5 separate regions of the Homo sapiens genome follow, and regions 1, 2, 3 and 4 are each linked to region 5. Evidence: promoter capture Hi-C in human tissues and cell types (Jung and others, 2019). All regions are on one chromosome and are shown on one strand. The core of a region is centred on a gene start or on the middle of the fragment in contact, and the rest is flanking DNA. Distances in the headings are between cores, read along the strand shown. Region 1 overlaps SSH2 (slingshot protein phosphatase 2). Region 2 holds the start of TAOK1 (TAO kinase 1). Region 3 overlaps SSH2 (slingshot protein phosphatase 2). Region 4 overlaps SSH2 (slingshot protein phosphatase 2). Region 5 holds the start of GIT1 (GIT ArfGAP 1).

Evidence for each region. Contacts are between HindIII fragments. The study calls those that stand out against the background at their distance.
Region 1: a contact is called between a fragment that was not itself captured here and the fragment with the promoter of GIT1 in region 5, in 3 of the 25 tissues and cell types used here (lymphoblastoid cells, spleen and thymus).
Region 2: the fragment with the promoter of TAOK1 here is called in contact with the fragment with the promoter of GIT1 in region 5 in 2 of the 25 tissues and cell types used here (IMR-90 fibroblasts and dorsolateral prefrontal cortex).
Region 3: a fragment that was not itself captured here is called in contact with the fragment with the promoter of GIT1 in region 5 in 1 of the 25 tissues and cell types used here (lymphoblastoid cells).
Region 4: a fragment that was not itself captured here is called in contact with the fragment with the promoter of GIT1 in region 5 in 1 of the 25 tissues and cell types used here (spleen).

The regions. Positions count from the first base shown.
Region 1 is chr17:29,766,651-29,769,350 of GRCh38, reverse strand. The region is part of intron 3 of SSH2 (slingshot protein phosphatase 2); the gene reads left to right. Among named protein-coding and RNA genes, the nearest start is that of SSH2-AS1, 130 kb to the right of the region's middle. The HindIII fragment of the contact is 5,686 bases long and covers 1-2,700 here.
Region 2 is chr17:29,389,110-29,391,809 of GRCh38, reverse strand. It overlaps TAOK1 (TAO kinase 1), which reads right to left and starts at 1,447. Exons shown (of 20, transcript NM_020791.4): 1 at 786-1,447. MIR4523 (microRNA 4523) reads right to left here and starts at 1,148; the gene lies at 1,080-1,148. RefSeq lists enhancers at 42-281, 1,442-1,531, 1,652-1,891 and a silencer at 932-1,401. The HindIII fragment of the contact is 18,861 bases long and covers 1-2,700 here.
Region 3 is chr17:29,744,927-29,747,626 of GRCh38, reverse strand. All of the region lies in intron 3 of SSH2 (slingshot protein phosphatase 2), which reads left to right. Among named protein-coding and RNA genes, the nearest start is that of SSH2-AS1, 110 kb to the right of the region's middle. The HindIII fragment of the contact is 3,441 bases long and covers 1-2,700 here.
Region 4 is chr17:29,830,757-29,833,456 of GRCh38, reverse strand. The region is part of intron 2 of SSH2 (slingshot protein phosphatase 2); the gene reads left to right. All of the region lies in intron 1 of LOC124900390 (a long non-coding RNA gene), which reads left to right. Among named protein-coding and RNA genes, the nearest start is that of SSH2, 98 kb to the left of the region's middle. The HindIII fragment of the contact is 5,151 bases long and covers 1-2,700 here.
Region 5 is chr17:29,588,199-29,590,898 of GRCh38, reverse strand. GIT1 (GIT ArfGAP 1) reads left to right here and starts at 1,251. Exons shown (of 20, transcript NM_014030.4): 1 at 1,251-1,572. The coding sequence starts at 1,521. RefSeq lists enhancers at 271-1,170, 2,070-2,700 and silencers at 923-1,402, 1,663-1,852. The HindIII fragment of the contact is 8,209 bases long and covers 1-2,700 here.

The DNA.
Region 1 (2,700 bases), core at 3-2,502, 180 kb before region 5:
AGATGCAGTCAGGTAGGTATTTAAGGTCCCCAAGAGTTCTTTCTCCCTGTTGGCAATAGACCTTTTCAGTTTAAACCTGTAATGAACCTCCATCATCATGGAGACAATATAGAATACTGTTTAAGAAAGAAGGTTCTGGAGCCAGAATAACTGGCTGGATTTGAAATACTGCTGTATAAGCTTAGGCAAATTATTTAACCTCTCTGAGCCTCATAGAGATAATAATAGAATCATAGGATTGTTTATAAGAATTGAGATAGTGCATGTAAACTCTATTTTTTTATTATTTTTTATTTTTTACAGAGATAGGGTCTCCCTATGTTGCCTAGGCTGGTCTCGAATTCCTGGAGTCAAGGGATCCTCCTGCCTCTGCCTCCCAAAGTGCTAGGATTACAGGTGTGAGCCACCACACCTGGCCATGTAAACTCTTAATAGAGCACCTGACACACACTGAATGTCAGCTCAAAAATTTCAGTTATTTTATTTTCAAAACCTTCTTGGCTCTTTTAGCCTCCATTCTTTGTTACTCCCAAAATCACTTCCCATTTTTCTATCTCTGTCTTACTACATTCTAGGACACTGATGGTATTAGGCCACATTAGGTTCATTCACCTATAATGTTAATAAGTTCTACAGCATTATCATTGAACAGATCTCAAAATATCTTCTGAATTTATAGAAAAGCTCCAATATATTCCTAAATTAGAAGTAAATAATTTTAAAATTTTCTGAATTTAAAATTGTATTATCTTCAAAGTAGCTTAATAATTACATTTACCAGCCAGGCATGATGATTCATACCTGTAGTCTCCACACTTTGGGAGGCCAAGGCAGGAGGATCGCTTGAGCCCAGAAGTTTGAAACCAGCCTGGGCAACATGGCAAGACTTCGTCTCGACAGGTGTGGTGTTACATGCCTGCAGTCCCAGCTACTTGGAAGTTGAGCCAGGAGAACTGCTTGAGCCCAGGCGGTTAAGAGTGCAGTGAGCTGTGATTGTGCCACTGCACTCCAGTCTGGATGACAGAGCGAGACCCTGTCTCAAAAAAAAAAAAAAAAAAAAATTTACATTTATCTTGTTATAGTCTAAGTAGTTCTTTGGAAAAAATAATCCATAATATAGTTCCTCATAATATTTTTCTTTATAAATTTTCTACTTTATTCCCATAAACATATTTTACTTTTCTAATATATATATTTTTAGCTTTTAATGTAATGTGTAAAAGACAGGGTATAGAAGAGCATCTTGGGCCCTGAGTTAATTTAATAGATCATGGAGTAGCAGGAGACACTAATAATGCACAGGAAAATAAAAAACTAAACTCTTTAGGTAGGCAGTTTGATAATATCTACCAGGTCCTAAGATGTTTAAAATATTTCAAACTGCCAATTCCACCTCTAGGTGTTGATCCAACAAGTATATTCACATGTATGCACAAATATTTTTTTCAATATCCCTGTCATGACATGAACAAAAATTATACAAACACATGTTCATAGTGATATTGTATATAATAGTAAAGACTGGAAACAACTTAAATGCCCATAAGTAAAGGACTATTTAAATAGATTATATATGATTGTACAATAAAATGCCTTATACTCCTTTAAAAGAATGAGGGAGACTTACAATAACATGGAAAAATGTCTAAGGTATAGTGATAAGTAGGGGGAAATGCAAGTAGAATAATATGTATAATTCTGTGTGTGTGTGTGTGTGTGTGCGTGTGTGTGCATGTATGCTTCTTAAAGAGCAGCTACAATATATTGCTGTTTGCATATACAAGCAAAATTTCTGGAAATATTAATAACAATCATCTCTGGGAGTAAGATGATGAGAATGAGAATGGTGACTTTCATTTTACCTTTCTGAATTCTAAAAAGATTTAAGCATTCAGCATGTGTTAATGTTATTTAAAAAAAAAACTAGTTTAAAAAATAAAATGTTTCATCCCTGAGAGGTCTAAAAAAAAAAAAGAAAAAAGAAAACGTTTAAAGAGATAAAGTGGGGACTAAATGGTTAAATGTTTTGTAAAGTGTGTTTGATGTGAAAAGTGATCTGTAAATACCTATTATTTTTACTAAACAATAGAGTTTGGGGCTTTTGTAACCTGAAGAAAGCAGCATTTCAGCATCTCTTCCTACAGGAGCATATGGTGTTTAAGACTATGGGGGGATGAATGCCTTAGAGATCACCTCTCCTAGAGTTGATAGGCAGATCTTTTCAGTGTTTTCCATTGCTCTTATGGAGGAAAAGTTCCATGGAAAAGACTATAAAGGTTCAGTGACATTGCTTAATCCAGTGTTTAAAACTATGGTCAGATATTCTTTTTTTAAAAATTAGCCACATGGTGATTGCAAAACATGATTGCTTTTAAGTGCCTTTGTTTACAAAGTTTGGTTTATTGTATTATATAAAGAATGCCATTGACTAAGTGTAGTAAGATACCTCTTGGTGAAAATTCAGATATTATCTTGAGAGTTTTGTCCTAGTGTTTTACAGATTAACAGGAGACAGAATGTTGCATTACTCTGTAATTCTAAGTGTTGGTTTTCTTCCTTTTGATACTCAGGGGATTAACTTACTGTTTATTTTTCTACATCGAGCCCTTAGAGAAAACATAAAAATACAAATAGGTCCTGTGGTATAATCATTTTTTCTTATGAGTAAGTATTTTAAAACTAAAATTATGTAAGTTAAAG
Region 2 (2,700 bases), core at 198-2,697, 200 kb after region 5:
ACATCTCTCAAAAAGAGAGACATCAAAACTGTTCTAACAGGAGAGGTGTCCCTCTCGAGAGGCCATATCCCCCAACAATAACACCAGAACAGATACACTTCCCATGGACAGATCTCAGGGGAAGAGTATTAAAACGATACTGTCGTCGATTTAAAACCAAAGGAAAAAGAGTAACCTTTTCAAGGGAAGCGCCATTACTTCCCTCTCCTGCTCCCCCTCCCTTCTGTGTATACATGGGTCTGTGTATGAAGAAACTGCCTTGGACTTCTGCAGCATTGCAGTAGACTAGAGGATGGGGAAGGGGGAAGGGTACGGGGAGAGAAACGCTTCCATCGCCCCTACAGAAGAGGGGTATAGATTTCCTGTGCTAGGGGGTGGAATCCACCCAGCAAGCCACCCAGAGCAGTCTCCCTTCCCAAGAATACACAGACACTACAAAGGAGAAGAGGAGCAAAGGCACCAGAGGGGAAGGGGACCTCGCGCCTTTAAACCGGGGTGCACATCAACCCAGTCTCCCTGTGAGGGCCACACCTTCCTCGAAACATCCCCCTTCCACCACCCCTTCCGGTGACCCTCAGGAAAAAGGAATGGAATTGCTCTCGCCCCTTAAAACCGGAGGGCGCCCAGCTCACCAGCTTCTTCACCCCACCCACAGAATCACAGACCCTCCTTTTCTCCCTCCCCCACCCCACTCCCACATCCCTTCTTCCACACACAGGCCCGAGTGGGCCGAATTTCCCCGCCCCCCTCTATATCCCCCTTTCCCAAAGCAGAGGTGCCCTTACCCTTTCGCCGACAGGTCTGGGGCGGAGCAGGCAGGCGCAGCCCCCTGCAGCGCTCCGGTAGCCGCTACCCTGGAGGGTGAGGAGTGAGGAGGAGGAGGGGGCCCGGCGACAGATCGCCGCCCCCCACCCCCGAGCCCCAGCAAGCCGCCCAGCCCAAGCTCTGCAACAAGGGGCGGCGGCGGCGGGGGGTGGGGGGGGGGGCGAGGGGACGACCGGGGTCGAGGAGGCGCCCTCAGCGCTTGGGCTCAGTTAAGATGGCGCGGGGAAGTGCCGGGAGCCGTCTCCGTCGCCGCCTCGGGGGAACCGGCCCGGGCCTCGGCCGCCTCTAGTCCTCACACAGCCGAGGCCCTCTCGGTCCCCCGCCGCGGCCCCTCGGCGGGCGGGCCCACGCGCAGCCCTCCGCCACCAACACCACCCCTGGTAAGGAGGCGCTCACAAAGGGAAGAGAGGCCGCGGGCCGGCCGGCGGACGGCGGGGCGGGGTCCCCCGGGGCCGGGAGGCCTCAGATGTTCGCGAGTGCCTAGTGCTTTCGGCCCGCGAAGGGCGCAGGGCGAGCGGGACCCCTCCTCTCTCCTCAGGCAGGCGGCGGCACCGACTCAGTCTCTTTGCCACCCTCCCTCTCTCTCCCCGAGCCCTGAAGCCACAGAGCCCGGCCGCTGCCCAGCTTCCCCCCCTTTACCCGACACCACTCCCCTCCTCCAGACCGTCATCCCCCGTCTCCGATCTCGCGAGATTTTCCGCCTGACAGGCCGGACCCTGCGCGAGACACGACTACATGCGCGCGCGCGCGCCCTCACAGGAGCGCGCAAGGCTTGCTACGGGCAGAGTTGTCCCGGTGGCCCGGAGTTCCAGCCTCTGTCCAGCATGGCCTCACTGAGTTCGCGGAGCTTCTAATGCCACGCGGGCGTCAGGTGCATTCATTTCACCCCGGAGATCTGAAGAAGAAGAGTTTATCTGCATTCCCCTTCCTTCCTGCTTCCCACCTCCAAAGCCCGCCACTGATCCTGCGAATAAGTTTGCCCTGAAGTGTGGAATATCCCATTCCTGCACAACTCGGTTCTACACCCCCTCCCCCGTGGGATTCAGAGGTACACTGGGCAGCGCAATCAGTATGCAGTTGAGTTTTTGAGATTCTAATAGTTGATACTAATTCTTGGAACGACAGTAAGACTTGGAAATACAGATCTAAGCCACCCTATATATTGGTGATGTAGAAAAGAGATAACTTCTTGAAAAGTGTCTGTGGGTTTAGTAGGTTGAGTAATGAGAAGTTTTGGAACAAGAGCAGCAAACAAACTAAAGACTCCTATGCAAAGAAGAAGTAGAGTTTTTATTCTTTTATCTCAAAACTTTTTTTTTTTTTTTTAGGGAAAACTCCCTCAGTACTTATTCAAGAACCTAAAAGTGTAAGGCCGGGCGCGGTGGCTCACGCCTGTAATCCCAGCACTTTGGGAGGCCGAGGCGGGCGGATCACGAGGTCAGGAGATCGAGAGCATCCTGGCTAACACGGTGAAACCCCGTCTCTATTAAAAGATAGAAAAAAATTAGCCGGGCGTGGTGGTGGGCGCCTGTAGTCCCAGCTAGCTACTCGGGAGGCTGAGGCAGGAGAATGGCGTGAACCCGGGAGGCGGAGGTTGCAGTGAGCCGAGATTGCGCCACTGCACTCCAGCCTGGGCGACAGAATGAGACTCGTCTCAAAAAAAAAAAAAAAAAAGAGAGAACCTAAAAGTGTACACAAAGTGTAGTCATAAAAAATCTTGGTTCTTTAACCAACAAAACGACTGAAATAAATAAACCTGTTATATGAGTTTCATGAATAAAAATTAACTCTGGGCCGGGCCCGGTGGCTCACGCCTGTAATTATAGCACTTTGGGAGGCTGAGACGGGCGGATCACCTGAGGTCAGGAGTTCGAG
Region 3 (2,700 bases), core at 81-2,580, 160 kb before region 5:
TGGTTGCTGTATAACTAACATAATTAAGTTTACCTTAAAGAAATATGCTAAGAACATCAAGGCCTTTTTAGGTGTTCCTGTAATTTGGAAAGGGTGTAGCCAGTAATTTATAAATAGATTGTTCTTGTTGCACACCAAAGGGCAAATCTGGGCTCACCCTTTTTGCATGTTGTGTGAATTTAACAACTTGTGTTTTCTGCATTAATCTATTTTTAGAGGGGTATAACCCCTCTTTTAGTAATTCGAGGGATTTGGCTTAGTTACACTTGGTAAAGCTACAAAATCCAGAGGTTTGAATCACTCCTAAATAAAGAGAAGCCTCAGTATTAGCCAATTATAAGCTTTCTTTAAAAGTTGTAACAATTTAGGTTTCCAGGGTAGAAGAAGTAGAATTATTTGATTTTTTTTGGTAATGAACTAAACTATTTAAATTGTTGTATATGTTTGTTTGAGGATGGTACCTGCCTCATTTCAGGACATTTTGGATATCACGTGAGATAATTATTCACAAGAAATAACAATAAAAATTCCAGTTATGGTTGTTACTTTTATCATCTGTACTTAATATTTATCCATCAAAATTTACATGGATATTCGTGATCCATAACAGGATATTTCAAGTCCTGAGCGTTCTAATTGTGGACTTTATATTGATTGTCTTCTGTAGTGACTGCGGAAAAGTTTATGCTACATATGGCTTTATCTGTTTGCAACTTAAGCAACACTTTAAGCATACTTCATCACCCCAGCAAAAAGCTGGTCAGGTTTATGAGCTTGGCATCTTATTGGTGCATTTTTGTCTCTGCTGTTCTCTGAATTTTGTGTCATAAAAACCAGTTAGTCTCCATGAGGGCTAAATTGAATGAGAGTTTTTTTCCTCTGATTTTAAATAAATATCACTTACAACAGAGCTCTTGGGAGATGCCATTTCTTCAGGACTCTCCTCTGACCCACGTCCCTTTTAAGTTACTCTTTCTCTTAATGTTAATATACACAGTTCTCATGAACATCAAAAGTTTTAATTTCCCATAATTGTATCATCTCTCTTTTTTCCTTTTTTTTTTTTTTTTTTTTTTTTTGAGACAGAGTCTCACTCTGTCGCCCAGGCTGGAGTGCAGTGGTATGATCTTGGCTCACTGCAACCTCCGCCTCCCGGGTTCAAGGGATTCTCCTGCCTCAGCCTCCCTAGTAGCTGGGATTACAGGCGTCCACCACCACACCCGGCTAATTTTTGTTTTTTTTTAGTAGAGGCGGAGTTTCGCTATGTTGGCAAAGCTGGTGTTGAACTCCTGACCTCAGGTGATCTGCCTACCTCAGCCTCCCAAAGTGCTAGGATTACAGGCATGAGACATTGCACCTGGCCTCATCTATTTTTAGGGGGAGCTTTAGTTTGAAAAGTTGGGGTTTCTGTGGCAGGATGTGAATTCTCAATGTAAATCTCTCTTCCTAAGAGATGAGTGAAATAAATGGATTCAAACAACAAATAAAACTGAACCTCTTTGAAGTCCCTTTGAACAGACTTGATATCTATCATTGTGTTAATCCTACCTCTGTGATGCCCTTCCCTCCTCAATAAAATCTCACACTTAATTCTTAAAGTATCCCGTTCCTTAAACATTCTCTTTAAAAACTCTTAAAAGATTTATTGGGTCACATATTCAGAATAACTACTTGCCATTTGTTATTGTACCTAACAGTAATAGTGCAGTGTTTGAAATGAAATGGACCTGAGCTCCAGAGTTCATCATTTATTATCTGTGTGACTTTGAACATATTATATAATCACCCTAAACCTTTTTCCTCATCAGTAAAATGGAACTTATAATACCTATGAGGATTAAATACGATATGGTAGCTTAAATTTTTGCTCATTTTGCTCTTTTGATATGAGCCAAATTATAGGAGAAATAATTAGAGTGGCACACTAGCATGATGGTAAACATTCTGTCATTTCCATCATTATCCTAAATTGCATCTATTCTGTGTAAGAAGTAAGAGATAAAAAAGAAGTACAAGACATGGTTCCTGAAGACAGGATACTCAGTTTGTTGAGGAAATAAGACGTCAATGAAGGGATAAATAAGAGCACAATTTATTGCATGGTAAGTGTCAGATGAACAGTACAATTTGTGCTTTAGAAATTCAGAGAACAGAAGGGTATCATTGTAGCTGGGTGCGGTGGCTCACGCCTGTAATCCCAGCACTTTCAGAGGCCGAGGCAGGCGGGTCACTTGAGTTCAGGAGTTCAAGACCAGCCTGGCCAACATGGTGAAACCCCGTCTCTACTAAAAATACAAAAATTAGCCGGGTGTGGTGATGGGCGCCTGTAATCCCCGCTACTCGGGAGGCTGAAGCATGAGAATCGCTTGAACCCAGGAGGCAGAGGTTGCAGTGAGCTGAGATCCTGCCACTGCACTCCAGCCTAGGTGACAGAAAAAGACTCTGTTTCAAAAAAAAAAAAAGAAAAACGAAAAGAAAATTACTTTGAGCATACTTTGGGTATATCATATGGGCAGAGCATCCGGAGTATCTACTAGGCACATAGCACAGTAACCAGTGTTTGCAGATTTTACATAGTTTATTTAGGAAGGTTGCCAATTTTGCAAGGCCATTGTTATTGAATCAGTACCAGTGACTGTGAGCACAATGTGAAATCCCCACAGGCAACACAAGAACAGAAATCATTAAACTATCTGCTAG
Region 4 (2,700 bases), core at 56-2,555, 240 kb before region 5:
GATAAAGGAATGGAAAAAGATATTCCATGCCAATGGAAACCAAAAAAGAGCAAGGGTAGCTATACTTATATCAGATAAAATAGATTTCAAGACAAAAACTATAGAGACAAAGAGGACTATTATATAATGATAAAGGAATTAATTCAGCAAGAGGATATAACAATTGTAAATATATATGCACCCAACATTGGAGCACTCAGATATATAAAGCAAATATTATTAGAGTGAAAGAGAGAGATGAACCCCAATACAATAATAGTTGGATACTTCATCATTCCACTTTCAATATTGGAAAGATCATCCAGACAGAAAATCAAAGAAACAGCAGACCTAATCTGCACTATAGACCAAATGGAACTAATAGATATTTACAGAACATTTCTTCCAATGGCTACAGAATACACATTTTTTCTCAGCATATGGAGCATTCTCAAGAACAGACCATATGTTAGACCACAAAACCAGTCTTAACAAAGTAAAAGAAAAAAATGGCTGGGCTCTGTGGCTTACACCTGTAATCCCAGCACTTTGGGAGGCCGAGGCAGGTGGATCACCTGAGGCCAGGAGTTCAAGACCAGCCTGGCCAACATGGTAAAACTCTGTCTCTACTAAAAACACAAAAATTATCTGGGTGTGGTGGTGCACACCTGTGATCCCAGCTGCTCGGGAGGCTGAGGCACAAGGATCGCTTGAACCTGGGGGAAGTTGCAGTGAGCTGAGATCATGCCACTGTACTCCAGCCTGGGCAGTAGGGTAAGACTGTCTCAAAAAAAGAAAAGAAAAAACTGGAAAACCAAAAAAAATTGAAATCAAGTATCTTCTCTGACCACAATGGAATAAAACTAGAAATCAGTAACAAGAGGACCTGTGGAAACTATATAAATACATGGAAATTAAACAGTATGCTCCTGAATGACCAGCAGGTCAATGAAGCAGTTAAGAAAGAAATTTTAAAATTTCTTGAAACAAATGGGTAGAACAAAATTTTATAGCCATCATTCATTTATTCAAACATTACTTAAAGGAAAAACAGGGCCAGGCTCACGCCTATAATCCCAGCACTTTGGGAGGCCAAGGCAGGAGGATCACTTGGGTGCAGGACTTCAAGATCAGCCTAAGCAGCATAGGGAGACTCCATCTCTACCAGAAATTTAAAAAATTAGCTGGGTATGGTGATTCCAGCTACTCAGGAGGCTAAGGTGGGAGGATCCCTTGAGTCCAGGAATTCAAGGCTGCAATGAGCTGTGATAGCACCACTGCACCCTCACCTGGGCAACAGAGCGAGACCCCATGTCAAAAAAAACAGAAGATAGCTTTTATCCTCAAATGCTCAAAGCCTAGAAAGACAGATTTATAAGTAAAATGATTGAAATACAGTGTGGTAAGTACAGTAATAGAGAAAATGTGTATAATAGGTACAGTTGCGGCACAAGAAGAGAATAGTCCATTCCTTGCCAAATTTGAAAAATGAGCAAAACTTACATATACGCTCTGATTACAACTACATAAAAACTATATATAAATAAATAACAAAAGAAGAATGAAAACACACAAGAGGCCTTAAGTATAAACAGTTGCAGCTGAGCACAGTGGCTTACACCTGTAATCTCAGCACTTTGGGAGGCCGAGGCTGGTAGATCACCTGAGGCCAGGAGTTGGAGACAGCCTCGCCAACATGGCGAAACCCCGTCTCTACCACAAATACAAAAAAAAAAAACTTAGCTGGGCGTGGTGGCACATGCCTGTAATCCCAGCTATTCAGGAGGCTGAAGCAGAAGAATCACTTGAACCCAGGAGGCAGAGGTTGCAGTGAGCCGAAATCGCACCATTGCACTTGAGCAACAAGAGCAAGACTCCATCTTAAAAAAAAAAAAAAAAAAAGATAAACAGTTGCATTCTGGTAGTGAGATGGCAAGAAGTGTCAAAGTTGTTTTATTGGTATCTTACAGTGAAAATTTTTAAAATTCACTTTAGACTTAAAAATAAGCTGGGATTCTTTGGAGTCTTACATCTAGATTAGCGTCTCTTATTTGTAATCTTAAAGATGAAAATATAGGAAATACTGTATTTGCCCTAAGTTAATACAGGAGAGAAAGAGGTTTTTATCACACACATCCTTTTACCTTTCCCCTCCTCAATTTAAGTCTGAATCTCTGCAGGCTACTGTGAAGAGCCTTGGAACTGAGTAGCGTATAGGTTATGTCTGCAGACGTGTTCAATGTCCTTTGGGGGAGGTTTCTTTCTACATGTAACTGCTTTTTTCCTTCTCAAATTTCTTTAACAGTAGCAGACCCTCACCCGGGTCTGCTAGATGCCTTAAAGGTGAGCTGCAAAGCAGCCACGACTATATCAAACAATTCTGGCACCCAGAATTTATGGCTTATCCTGTTATGAGCTCCATATAACAAGTAAAAATTAAAATCCACTGGCACGTTAATCAAATGTAATGTTGCTGTGTAGTAATAATTTAAATTCTACTATGCAAAGTTATGCCCAGGACTTATGATCAGCCTCCATCTCTCATTGTCATGCATTAAAGCACTACTGCTTCATTTCCTTTCCCATTTGTGGTTTCCACTAGTCTGGTTCTACATCTCTATCTTGAACTAATTAAACTGGCTCAGACTGGAGCAGCTATACCAGGCATAATACCAAGAGGAGAGCAGAACTGGCCTGGGTACTCCTTCACTGACTGTATTT
Region 5 (2,700 bases), core at 2-2,501:
TCAAACAAACTTGTCAATCTGGGCCGCAGCAAAAGGCGATGGAGGCAGCTTTGCATGTATTTCGGGTGGTGTGACTCATGAGCATTACTTGTCTCCCCTAGGGAAGGAGCCTGCCCACCCACAAATCACTGCCGCTCTGGCACCGTTGGGATAATCGACCAACTTGAGCACCCCTGCCAAAGGACTGCCCCCATCTTAACAAGCAGGAGTCTCTGACTCTTGGAGAACCCCTCCTCAATTGTCACCACTGACCTGGCCCCCAGGTCTGGCCCTGGGGACCTCTACCCTCTCCCCACAAGCAGAGTGCCCGGGCCTTTTGCTGCTGCAGGGATTGGGGGTTGGGTACACGCGCGGCACACGCGTATGGGGGCGCATGCTCAGTGCGGGGGCTGCGCTCATGTGCGGCCTCTACCTAGGCTCCCTGCCCCCCAGCCCACCCACGTCCCTCACCTGCCTTGCCTTTGCCTGCCTCGTCGTGTGAAGTCCAGGAAGAAAGGCCGTCACCTGAAACGGCCCCTCTATGTTATATGCACCCTTTCTGGACACACACACCTCTGGTGGCCCAGAAACACCGTGGGTGTGTGTAAGGCGGATGACAAGTGGATGTGAGTGCACACAGGCACAGTGGTCACTCCTCGGGAGGTCTTTAAAAACCGCCCAGATTCTCTCCTCTCTGGATGGAAGGATGCATGGAGAGATAGATATATTTTTAGTCCGGAGGCAGGGGAATACACTGCCTGACCTTTCTGGCACCTGGGCGTCCATATTGTTAGCAGTGGGCGTATTCAGCAAGAGTGTGACACATACACACACACCCCTGGACACACAGATGTGGACACCTACGGGACAGGGACGCACACCTCACCCCAACCAGAGATAGACGGGTACCCCAAGGCACAGCCCCTTTGACCTGGAGCGGGACTTGGGCCTCCAAGTCCTTCTTCCCTAATCCCCACCCTCGCCGTCCGTGGGCCCAGCGTCCCCCGGTCCACCCCACGCGGAAAGTGAAGGGGAGGGGGCTGTGAGGGTGACTCACATTGCCTCCGGGCCAGGCGAGCGCTGCAGCGGAGGCCAGGGCCGCAGGCCACGCTGCCCGCCGGGGCCGGGCATCTGCCGCGGCCCCTTTAAGCGCCCCCGCCCCCTCCTGCCCGCGCCCGGGCTTCCTTTCTCTAGGGGGCGCGGCCGGCAGCGCGCGGCGGGGCGGGGGTGCGGCCCCTCCCCCTGTGGGCAGGGCCTGCGCCGCTTCCTGCAGAAGCGGCCGGGAGCCGCGCAGGGGGCGGAGAGAGGAGCCGCGAGCGGCGGCGGGGCGGCGCGGGGCGGAGGGCGCCCGAGGGCGAGCGGGCAGGCGGGCACGGCGGGTTCCGGGCCAGCCCCGGGGCGGACGGTTGGCCGGGCGCGCGGAGCCTCGCCGGGGCCTCGCCGGAGCCGGGCCGGGCAGCAGGGGCCGCCGCCGCCGCCCGGGCCCGCCGCCCGCGCCCCCCACGCTGGCCCAGAGGGCTGCGGCCGCGTCGCCGCTGAGGATGTCCCGAAAGGGGCCGCGAGCGGAGGTGTGTGCGGACTGCAGCGCCCCGGGTAAGCGCGGCGGGGCCGGGGGCGGGACCGCACAGCCAGGCCGCCGCCGGGCGGGCGCCGGGGCCTGGCAAGAGCGCTGTGCGGGGCCGGAGGGCTGGGCGGGGCGGGGGGCTGCGGCCTCCAGGCTGGGCCCCCGCCTCGGCCACTGCGGAGCTGCGCCCTTGGCGGGAGGGCCGGCCTGGGGTGCCCATGCTCCCTGGAGGCCGTGGACTAGCGAGGAAGGACGTTCCCGGCGCCGCCTCCCGCTCCTCGGTCTGAGGGAGGCGGGCAGCTGGCTGCTCCTCCACCTCCATCTCTGTATCCGACGGAAGCGCCAGCCTGGGGTGGCAGGAGGGCCGTGGCGGAGGCCGTCAGGGCTTGGGAGGTGGGGGCGAGTGTGGTTTTATGTCATCTCAGTGCCACCCCCGCGTCTTGCACCTGCTGCTCGCGTGGTCGGTACGCCTGCCGGGGTGGTGGAGGGCAAGGAGCAGAGGGCCGGGCAGATGCGCCAGTGGGGCCTGAATACCGTCTCCTCAGGAGCAGATGAGCGGTGGCTACTCCCAGGACTCCCTGCCTCGGGTTCCTAAGGCTAGCGCTCCTTGCCGGGCCTGGCGTTCAGGGCCAGTCTAGACCCGGGTGTCTTCTCGGGAGGCATCCCCAGGCCTGCTGGTGGTGACTGGGAACAGCTCGGCTGGACCCTGCTGTTCCTGTTCACCGGTAAGGCCTGCTTGGGAAAGTGAGCTTGGCATCAAGCTATCCTGGGTGCGGGCCCCTCCCTGTCCCCTAGCCCAGTCTGGCCAGAAATGGGTGGGAGGCCGTGCCGAGATTCCCCGTATCCTGCTGGCTTCCTGGCCTGTCTCCTGGCTGTATTTACATGGTGGTTCCCTTCCTTTTCCTAACAGAGTTAGGACTGGGCTGGAGTGAAACCCCCCAGGCCTGCTGAGGAAGTCAGGGGTAATGATCCAAGAGGCTGCTCCCTTCTGATGAGGGAGGACAGCCAGTGACGGGGCTCTGCAGCTGGCCTGGGAAGGAAGCTCTAGCCCACATCCATTCTTTCTTTAGCAAAGGAGCTATCTCCCTGGTAGGCCCCTGGGCAGGCTGCGGAGGTCCGTGAACTCTAGCGGGGCTGTGGGCATGATTAAGAGTGAG